Linked DNA regions of Homo sapiens: all the other regions are linked to region 3. Evidence: promoter capture Hi-C in human tissues and cell types (Jung and others, 2019). All regions are on one chromosome and are shown on one strand. The core of a region is centred on a gene start or on the middle of the fragment in contact, and the rest is flanking DNA. Distances in the headings are between cores, read along the strand shown. Region 1 overlaps GSAP (gamma-secretase activating protein). Region 2 overlaps GSAP (gamma-secretase activating protein). Region 3 holds the start of CCDC146 (coiled-coil domain containing 146).

Region 1 (3,188 bases), core at 614-3,113, 230 kb after region 3:
CAAAATTAGGTAATACGATATTACTATCGACAAGTAAAATGTGGATGCAGAGAGTGTCATTGGGTCAGTAAAAGTTGAATGCTTTGTAAAGAGTCAAAGGCATGTCTCTAAAACACTAGAAAATTAGGTTTAGGGGAAACAACTAAAAAAGATTGGGTAAAAAATGCCTGGTATACACAGCTTGCTTTGTAAGGGTCTTTAAATTACTATATCCTTAGAAATAAAAATTTTTAAAAAGTAACAGGAAGTTAGAGGTAACTCATTACTAGTGCTTTTATGCATGAAAAATGATGTTGAACTTCAATTAGCAGATGCACAAAGAAAGGCTTGAGTCAAAACATGGGTGAATAATGTACATTGTTATGTTTCAGGTTAAAATAAAACGTCTAATGTCTTTTTTTTTTTTTTTGTAGTTAACCAGCCACTCTTTGATCTTAACCACATCTGATAAAGAGATTTTTCTGACTTCACAGGATAGCTGTAAAATAACACAGAATGCACGTGGAAGTACTTAATAAACTCTAATGTGAAATACAAATGTAAGCTATTTTTATTACAAATGTAATAAATATCTGCCACCAGATTTTAGTCCTTTTGATAATTATAGATCAAATACAGACCAGGAGAAAAAGTAGATATTTAAGAAACGCATTATTTACTGAGCTCTTCATTGAAATATTACTGACATAGCTAAACTTTTATTCCCAATATGGAAAAGGGGGTACCCAAAAGAACAGAAACACCCTGAGTGTGAGACCTGGTAGGGATCCATAAAAAAGCAGCGCAAAAGATGACGATGTCAGCAGCAAGGCCACACACCTCAATTAATTGTTACTAAATAAAAATAACTCCTGACCATTTTCAACCACAAAATAAATATGTTCAGTGTCGTCTATCTGCCCATTTTAAAACATGAGCTATCTTCTCACCTGGGCTTCCAGGAACTGCGCACCTTGACCGCAGTAGAGCGCGCAGTGCAACGCAGCCATCTTCTCACAGTCTAAGCAAGTGTTCTGCAGAAGCTGTAATAAAGACGACTGGCTGAGCAGTGCTCTATAGAGCTTTCCAGAACAACAATCCAATACCAGGGACCCTGACAATGACTGTAAAGGGCAATGAGGTAGCATATCAATCATTTCATTATTTCCTGGCAAAAAAAAAAAAAACAGTAGATCAGCAAATAGAAGAAACTCCTTTCACCCAAACATAGATATTAAAGTCAAAACAAACTCAAATGGGCCACCTCTACAAGAGAAAAACTATAGCCGTACCTGTCAGAAAGAGATTGTGGCAGATCAGGTCTGGATGTTGAACATTAAGTAGGTGGAAGAAATGACCAGGTAAGTAAACAGCCACATAATAGTCTATAGAAGAGAAAGATTTACATCATCTACATGTGGTAAAAGCTGCACAGGTACAGAATGTCACATTATCCCTGCTTGTCTCTGAATATCTCAAAAGGCAAAAGTTTTACCAATGTAATAAGCTATCTAATGACAGCCCGTTTTTTTTTTTTTTTTTTTAAGACAGGGTCTGACTCTGTCACCCAGGCTGGAGTAGCGGTGGTGTGATGTCGGCCCACTGCAGCCTCAAACTCCTGGGCTCAAGTGATCCTCCCCACCTCAGCCTCCCAAGTAGCTGGGACTACAGGACTGTGCCCACAACACCCCACTAATATTTTCTATTTTTATAGAGATGGAGTCTCACCATGTTGCCCAGGCTGGTCTTGAACTCCTGGGCTCAAGCAATCCTCCTGCCTCGGCCTCCCAAAGTGCTGGGATTACAGGCATGTTGCCCAGGCTGGTCTTGAACTCCTGGGCTTGAGCAATCCTCCTGCCTCAGCCTCCCCAAATGCTGGGATTACAAGCATGAGCCACCACACCCAGCCACATTTCTCTTACTAGGTAAACCTCATTTATTTCCATCTTTGGCTAATTTTCTTCAGATATTTAGCTATGGTTATCTTAATTTATACCTGCAGTTTTGTTTCTAAGTGATTTGTGGCTTTATGTGAATCTAAATGATCTCAGAGCAAATTAGAATAAAAATATCAAGCAACACGAATTATTCCTTAATTTGATAAGCTGGAAATAGCCTATATTGGGAATTTTCTTCATAATTTCTGCCAGTTTCGGGAAGCTCTAAAATTTTGTTGCCCATGTTTGTCCAGTGATCATCATTATCATCATCAGTAGCAGGAGCATTTTGTTTAGAGAACCTTTAAATCGATATTCATCAGAATAATCTCTGCAGACACATTGACACTTTGTGAAGTACTAATTTATTTCCTTGCATATCAAGCTGACTAGAATTCACACCTTCAGTCCCTGCACTAGATATTTTTGAATCAAGAACATTTGTACTCAGATGGAGACAAGGTATAAAAAATAGGTTTCTGGAGAATGGAAGGGTGGAAGTAGCCCTTGCCAATACTTTTTCTAGGATCTTAGAAAACAGAAATTCACACAGTAGTAATTTTATATAGATGAAACATTTAGATTATAAGTGAGCCAGCTAGACTCCTTTTCCTAAGAAGTGAAGGAACACATGCTAATCATTTGCATAGAAGGCGTTCTGTGGAAAGGGAAGAGGATATAGAACTCAAACCAGTTGACTTACAAGTGTCCTTTCAGTCAACGTGGATTAAATGATGCTAAAGTGCTTAGCACAAATGGTTGCAATCATCTTATTATAGCAACACTTTACTAGAAAACCACAAACAACAATACAGTGGGACATAATGGAAAGGGTATCGGCATCAAATGACCTAGTTACCTCCCAGCTGTACCACTTAACTAGTTAATTAGGATGGCACTATGTCCGTGGGGTGGTGGCATTTGAAAATATATGACAGTGATTTGGGTTGTTAACATCATTGAGGTAGTGAGAGGGAGATTCCTATTTGGCATTTGGTGAGTAGGCTCTAGGGATGGATGTTCAGTCCCTCAATGAACAGGGAATTTTTGTCTCACCAAAAGGGGCAGTAGTATCTGTGGTAGGCTGAATGATGGCTCCTGAAGATATGCACGTGCTAATCCCCAGAGCCTGTGAATAGGGTAAAAGAGATCTTGCAGATGTGACTAGGATCTTGAGATGGGGAGACTATCCTGGAATATCCAGGTAGACACAGGTAGGCACAAAAGTCCTTATGAGAGGGAGATTTGACTAGAGAAGAGAAGACGACCATA
Region 2 (3,195 bases), core at 415-2,914, 190 kb after region 3:
ATGCAATATAACAATAGCGACCCATACTGGACATGTACCAAGGCTTTCAACCTGTGTCCTGGCTCATCTGATCCTCATACAAAAGTATGGGGTGGGAATTACTAGATTCCCATTTCATAAATGGAAAAACCAAAAGCCAAGATTCACAGGAGCTAGGCAACTTGCCCAGGATCACAGAAATAATAATGTGTAAGTTGAAATTTGCATCAACTGTGTGATTGTAGGGTAGGCTTTCAACCATAATGTCACTGTTAATAACTGGCAGCTGTGTTAATAGAACATGAACAGAGGTCCGAAGATGAGAAAGCACAGGGCATATTCAGAAAATAGTAAATGATCCAGCTGGGTTGGAATCATATTAGAGGAGAGAAAGATTAAGAGGTAAGGTTGGAAAAGCTAATTTATTCAGCACATCCCTTCCACACACCTGGCAAGGGGCTAAGAGTATAAAAATGAGCAAAACAGGCACAACTGCTGCTCCCATACACCTTGCAGTCTGCTGGGGGAGGCAGACAATCAATTACAAAAAATAGACATTTTTAAAAATGTGACCAGTTCTGTGCTTATGAGTGCAGGTGACAGAGGTTGAATGCTGAATGATAGAGATTTATTAATTTGAGAGACTTTGAGGAGGTAATGAAAGTTTTTAAGCAGAACAGAAGATTTACCATTGGGATATTAATATGGCAACAGGCAAAGAATGAGTTGGAGTAATAATTTGCTACAGAAGGTATGAAGACCTGTAGAGAAGCTATTGCCTGAACGTGGATAAGAGGTAATGGAGGCACTGAATCAGAGAGGCATGGTAACATGTACAGGCTTTGCAACTCATTGAATGTGGGAATGACTGACAGAAGAATCATAGCCTACTCTTGGGAAGGTACCTGACAAAAGGATGATGCCCAACGAGCAGGGCTTGGATTCAGAGAAATCATGGGATTTTCTCTCTCTAAACACATGAATCACAAGCCATGGGGCACAGTCCTAAGTCCTTGTAACATCAAGGGTCAGATGAAGTACAGGCTCTGCCCACAAGCATGTGTTAATGGGCTAACAGGATGAGTCCACTAGCTTCCCTGAGTCCAAAAAAACTCCACTATTTTACTAGTTAATTAACAACAACGTTTTTCAAATGGATTTGGAAATTCTTCACAAAACTATTAGTAAAAAGTTACAAAATTATTTCTGAAGAAAAGTTTACACTAGATTATTGATGATATTGATTTTCTGGATTCAAATTTCCCTCTCCAGCCCTGTGTTCATATGCTAAAGGTCCCTGATGACCCTTCATCCTCTATCCCCAGGGCACAGTCCCAAGTTCAGGGACCTGTTCTTGGCCTCTATACATCAGCTCTGAGCAACAGAGCAAATTGGCTATAATTAGTCATCAGCTCCACCCAACTTTAATCCTCATCTTCCAGGGCTCCTGGCCTCCTCTAGCCAGCAAGTGCAATACAGTTCCTTTTTTTAAAAGCAAATGCCCTAGCTCTAAACCCTGACTTCCTTTTTGTGTTCCCCATTCTCTTCTTAACTTTAACCAATTCATGTTACAAGTCTCTGACAATCGTAACTCAAACAGTCATCATTAGTCCAATAGGCCTGGAAAGCAAGCACACTTACGCATGTGCATATAGAAACACCCTGAATTCATACAAGCATGCACATGCACACACACACATGATCCAGTGTCACCTCCCCCCTCTATTTCCATGTCACATGATGGAAATAAACATTCAAGAGAAAAGGAGAGAGCATGGAATACTATGCAGCCATAAAAGAGGATGAGTTCATGTCCTTTGCAGGGACATGGATGAAGCTTGAAACCATCATTCTCAGCAAACTATCCCAAGGACAGAAAACCAAACACCACACATTCTCACTCATAGGTGGGAATTGAACAATGAGAACACTTGGACAAGGGTTGGGGGGGAACATCACACACTGGGGCCTGTCGTGGGGTTGGGGGCTGGGGGAGGGATAGCATTAGGAGAAATACCTAATGTAAATGACGAGTTAATAGGTGCAGCAAACCAACATGGCACATGTATACCTATGTTACAAACCTGCACGTTGTGCACATGTACCCTAGAACTTAAAGTATAATTAAAAAAATGAGAAACACCTTTTCCTTACCTGACCCACAGACACAAGCCATAAGTCTACTTATAATAATTCTCGATCACTATGGATAACATCTTTGTTTTCCCTCCTTATCACTGTGAAGGAATGTGAGTTGGGTAGAAAGTGGATTTTTATGATCTCCAGGCGTAACAATGTCCCCAGTAAGTCAGTTTCATTTATTTTCAAAAGAAGCTTGAATATCTGTAATGAACAAATCTAAAACTGTCAATCCATTTCCCTACCAAATTTTTTGTGTTAACAACAAACAATTAAGAATTTAAGCCACAAAGGTAGTTTTCCTGTAATCCTTCAATCTTTCTAGGGTGTACCTCATAACTCATATTCCATTGGGATAATTTTAAACCATCCATTCCCCTCACAAATGGTCCCTTTCAACTCCTTTTGTACTGCCATACAGACAGACATTAAATAAGGTGGATGAAGAATGAAGGATTCCAAACCGTATCAGATGTGTCATAAATGCAGAGCAGCATATGCTGTAGGGATTCTTTAGGCCCATAAATAGCCCATGTTTCAACATCAACTAATTCAACTGGAATATAAAATTCAAGAAGCAGCATGGATTTTGGAGCCAAACTGCCTGGATTTGAATATCAGCTCTGTCACTTAATAGCTATGTGACTTTAGGCAAATTACTCAACCTTTCTGGCCTCAGTTTCACCATCTATAAAATGGGAATAATATTAAGTGGAACCACATGAAAGTGCCATTTTTGTTGGCCAAAAAATGGTTGGGCACTGACAATTTAATGTGGTCCAACTTAAGTTTCTACCAGTTAAAATTTTATGAAAATTAAGTGTACTAATTTGTGTGTACTTTCAACAGTACGTGGCACAAAATGAGTATCATATATATGTTGGCCTAAAATGAAGCAATGAACAAATGATGAATGGATGAATATATATGAATGAAGTAACTAAATATCAGCTGATATGTAGTTACAGCTATCATAAAGTTTAACACTCATTAGAACTTTATATGCAATAATAAATCCATTCATGTTTAGGCAACTAATCTTCAAAAGCACCAAGAACACACAATGGGGAAAGGATC
Region 3 (3,136 bases), core at 53-2,552:
GCCATACCATTGAATGAATTGTCAAGAAACTTCAACCTTGAAAAATAAGCCAGTTTGCTAATGACAACGGGATAAAGAAGAACACAAGCGGCTCCAGAAATAGAATTTGACCTGGATTATACCAAATCGTGTTTCCATTCGATGTATAAAATTTCTATAATTGGGAACCTAATTTTTTAAATACTACTCGGATACTCAAGAATAGAACAGAGGAAAAGTTGCATTTCCGAAGGGGCCAACTGTAAATTAGGTTTAGAAAGCCAGGACCAATTAAAAGTGCACGTCGACCAAATTTATTAAGTTCACTGTGCGTTCCCTGGGACCCAAACCCGTTTTCACTTCACTTCACTTGCCAAACTTCAGGGGCGCGTTCACCTCCACGGACGCCTGGGGGTGGATAGTATCAGACACAATGGCCATCTCCTCCAGATCCTCGTCGTACTTCACCTGCAGGCCGTCCAGGCCCCGCACGCCGCCCTCCACGCCGCACACCGCGACCAGCACGCGGTCGCCATCCGGGTAGGTGAGGGGGTCCAGGGGCCTCACGGCCAGGTGGCACGGGAGCCGCGCCCGCAGCCGACCGAACGGGCTCACCTGCAGTGTCCACTCCTTCAGAGTTCGGCGCGCCGGGCCAGGCGGAGGGACCTCAGTCTCCGATCCGGGCCAGCGCTCGCCCCTACCTGAGCTGTACGGCCTGGCTTGGCAAGCCCAGCAAGACCAGCGCCCAGCGCCAGCCCACAGTCGGACCTGACGGAGACAGAGACGGAAGCAGCCAAGCTCCCAACCTGAACAGGGGGCAAGCATGGCGCGCCTCTCTCGCCAGTCCTCAGAACACTTCAGCCACAGGGAGGGTCACTTGCCACGGCCAATCGACTTGGCCACTGTGCCGCCTCAAGTCAAATAGGAGACGTAAGTCAGGGTTTGCTGAAACAAGAGCGAGCCGGTTGGCTTGACTAGGCGATGTAAACATCAGCTGCGTAATCCCCAGGGGCAAGTTGGGATTTGAAAGCTCTGAACTCTGACCTGGACCCCTTGCCTAAGTCCACCCCCTTTCGCTAAGGCCGACGGGATACGTAGTTCTAAAGCGGTGGAAAGTCGCAGAGCTCCGCCTCTTAGAAACCACATATCCCAGGAGGCAATGCGCAGGGGAGCACGGGTAAGAGGGCAGGTGTTAGAATCGCTGGAAAGGCGGGCGCCCTTTGTTTCAAGACCATTGGCTATTGGAGGGGCGGTACATGGGAGGCCACTGGCCAATGGGAAGCACGGAAGGGGGCAACGAGGGTAAAGCTGCATGGTCACCTTGGATACCAAGGACGCGACTTCTTGTTTGGAGAGGGTGGAGCTTTGGAGTGAGACCCAGGAGGCCAAATCCCAAAGAGAAAAATAGGAGCCTAAATAAGGATCAGGACCAAGGGAAGGGGTAAGAAACTGCGCTTTTTAAGTTGACAACTAGGTGCAAACTAGGAGTAACCTATGTGGATGTCAAGATCCAAGCTTCACTAACCTAGTGCGGGCATCTCCAGGGCATGGAGAATGCCTTGGTAAGAGAGTAAAGAGCAAGATTGGTGCTTTTTGAGGGAATTGCCTCTTTGGAAGTGTATTCCCTCCTATATTCCAAATATAGGAATAGAGTACTTGCTCCGTCCTGACCCTAAGTGACCTTACTTTGGGTTTTAATTTGCTCACTTTAAAAATGTAGATGATAATACCTTCCTTGCCTTGCCTCAAAGGGTTTTTGTGAGGATCAAGTAAGAAAATGGATGGGACCGTGGTGCACAGTCTACCAAATTACCGTGTAAAGTACTGTATTTTTATTTCAACGTACTTAACATTGATTCTGAGTTACCAAGAAAATTATGAGAGATCAGAACTTGTTTTGAGAATAGCATTGATCTCTTTGACTACAAATGATCATCAGTTTTAGAGTGAAAAAAAAAAAGACACAAAAAAGAGAGTCACCATGGTGCGGTGGAAAGAGCAGGGACAAGGGTCAGATTATTTTCCTGGCTCTGCCACTGCTTCATCTGTGTCACCTAGACCTGTTTCTTTAGTTTTAAAATGAAGAAAGATGGTTCTAAATGACCCTATAAGGTGTGTGTGTGTGTGTGTGTGTGTGTGTGTGTGTGTGTGTGTGTGTGTGTGTGTTTACCTTTTATAATTCTATGGGCAGTAAAATAATGGGAACAGAAAGATTTATTTTCTTCTTTTTTTCTTCTTTCCTGCCTGGTTTCTCTCTCCCCCTCTGTGCCCCTACTTCCTCCTAAAATGTATTCCCTAAATTATTTAGCCAAGACACCTGCAAACACTAACATTTCATAAAATGCAAGTGCCTTAAAAAATTGAAGCCCTTACCCAAGTACAATGACCAGAATTCTTGGGGCTATCGTGATAGATAGACTGGGCTAAAGTTCTCATGGGTACAAGTCTCAGGTTCTCTGCTAGCCACTACCTTTTTAAAATTTTTAAAAATTCAGTGTTCTCTTAAGTTATCATTGCCTCTTTTCTGTCCTTCTAGTCCTTGCTCCCTCCTTATTCTTCTTTCGGTGAAGACTCACTCATTATAGGTGCTAGCTCAGGTTCAGCAAGGGCCCACTGCAATAGTTCTTTTCTTGTCTTTGTGTTTCATTGGTTATAATTATTCAGAATAATCTTCAAACTATTTTTTATGAAAATTGACAGGTGTAACTTTGAAAAGAAATTTGAAAAAGGCACTGGTTTAAGGAAGTTGAGAATGTACTCAAATTTTCTGTAGAAACACTAGACATTTTTAGATTAAATATTAATTCTTAATAGTTAATTCTGTGTCTATGGTAATTTTTCCGTTTCTGAGACAAACTAAGTTAATGGAATTGGCAACTGAACTATAATTTTCTATGTTGCATAATCATTATTTTACTTTTTCAAACAAAAACCAAATAGAATTGACTGAAAATTTACTTTGCTGATCATACAAGGTTGAAAATGGAGAAAATTATTAATATTAAGATTGGTATAAAATAGTTAAAGTTATAGACACTTAAAAACAGTATAATGAGTATCAAATCTGTCCACATATCAACAATGATTAATAAAAGTTGTATCTTCCATCCATATGACATTATAATTGTCAAACCATGTTCACATGCGTCATCTCACT

What was found. The method cuts DNA at HindIII sites, captures the fragments that hold promoters and counts their contacts. A contact is called where the count stands out against the background at its distance.
Region 1: a fragment that was not itself captured here is called in contact with the fragment with the promoter of CCDC146 in region 3 in 2 of the 25 tissues and cell types used here (aorta and pancreas).
Region 2: a contact is called between a fragment that was not itself captured here and the fragment with the promoter of CCDC146 in region 3, in 7 of the 25 tissues and cell types used here (aorta, dorsolateral prefrontal cortex, hippocampus and 4 more).

The regions. Positions count from the first base shown.
Region 1 is chr7:77,354,284-77,357,471 of GRCh38, forward strand. GSAP (gamma-secretase activating protein) reads right to left here. Exons shown (of 31, transcript NM_017439.4): 15 at 1,272-1,364; 16 at 930-1,147. Among named protein-coding and RNA genes, the nearest start is that of GSAP, 60 kb to the right of the region's middle. The HindIII fragment of the contact is 5,107 bases long and covers 1-3,188 here.
Region 2 is chr7:77,315,423-77,318,617 of GRCh38, forward strand. The region is part of intron 26 of GSAP (gamma-secretase activating protein); the gene reads right to left. Among named protein-coding and RNA genes, the nearest start is that of CCDC146-AS1, 68 kb to the left of the region's middle. RefSeq lists an enhancer at 670-1,171. The HindIII fragment of the contact is 3,482 bases long and covers 1-3,195 here.
Region 3 is chr7:77,121,313-77,124,448 of GRCh38, forward strand. CCDC146 (coiled-coil domain containing 146) reads left to right here and starts at 1,303. Exons shown (of 19, transcript NM_020879.3): 1 at 1,303-1,420. It also overlaps the pseudogene FAM185BP. RefSeq lists enhancers at 92-593, 594-1,093 and a silencer at 989-1,088. The HindIII fragment of the contact is 9,649 bases long and covers 1-2,484 here.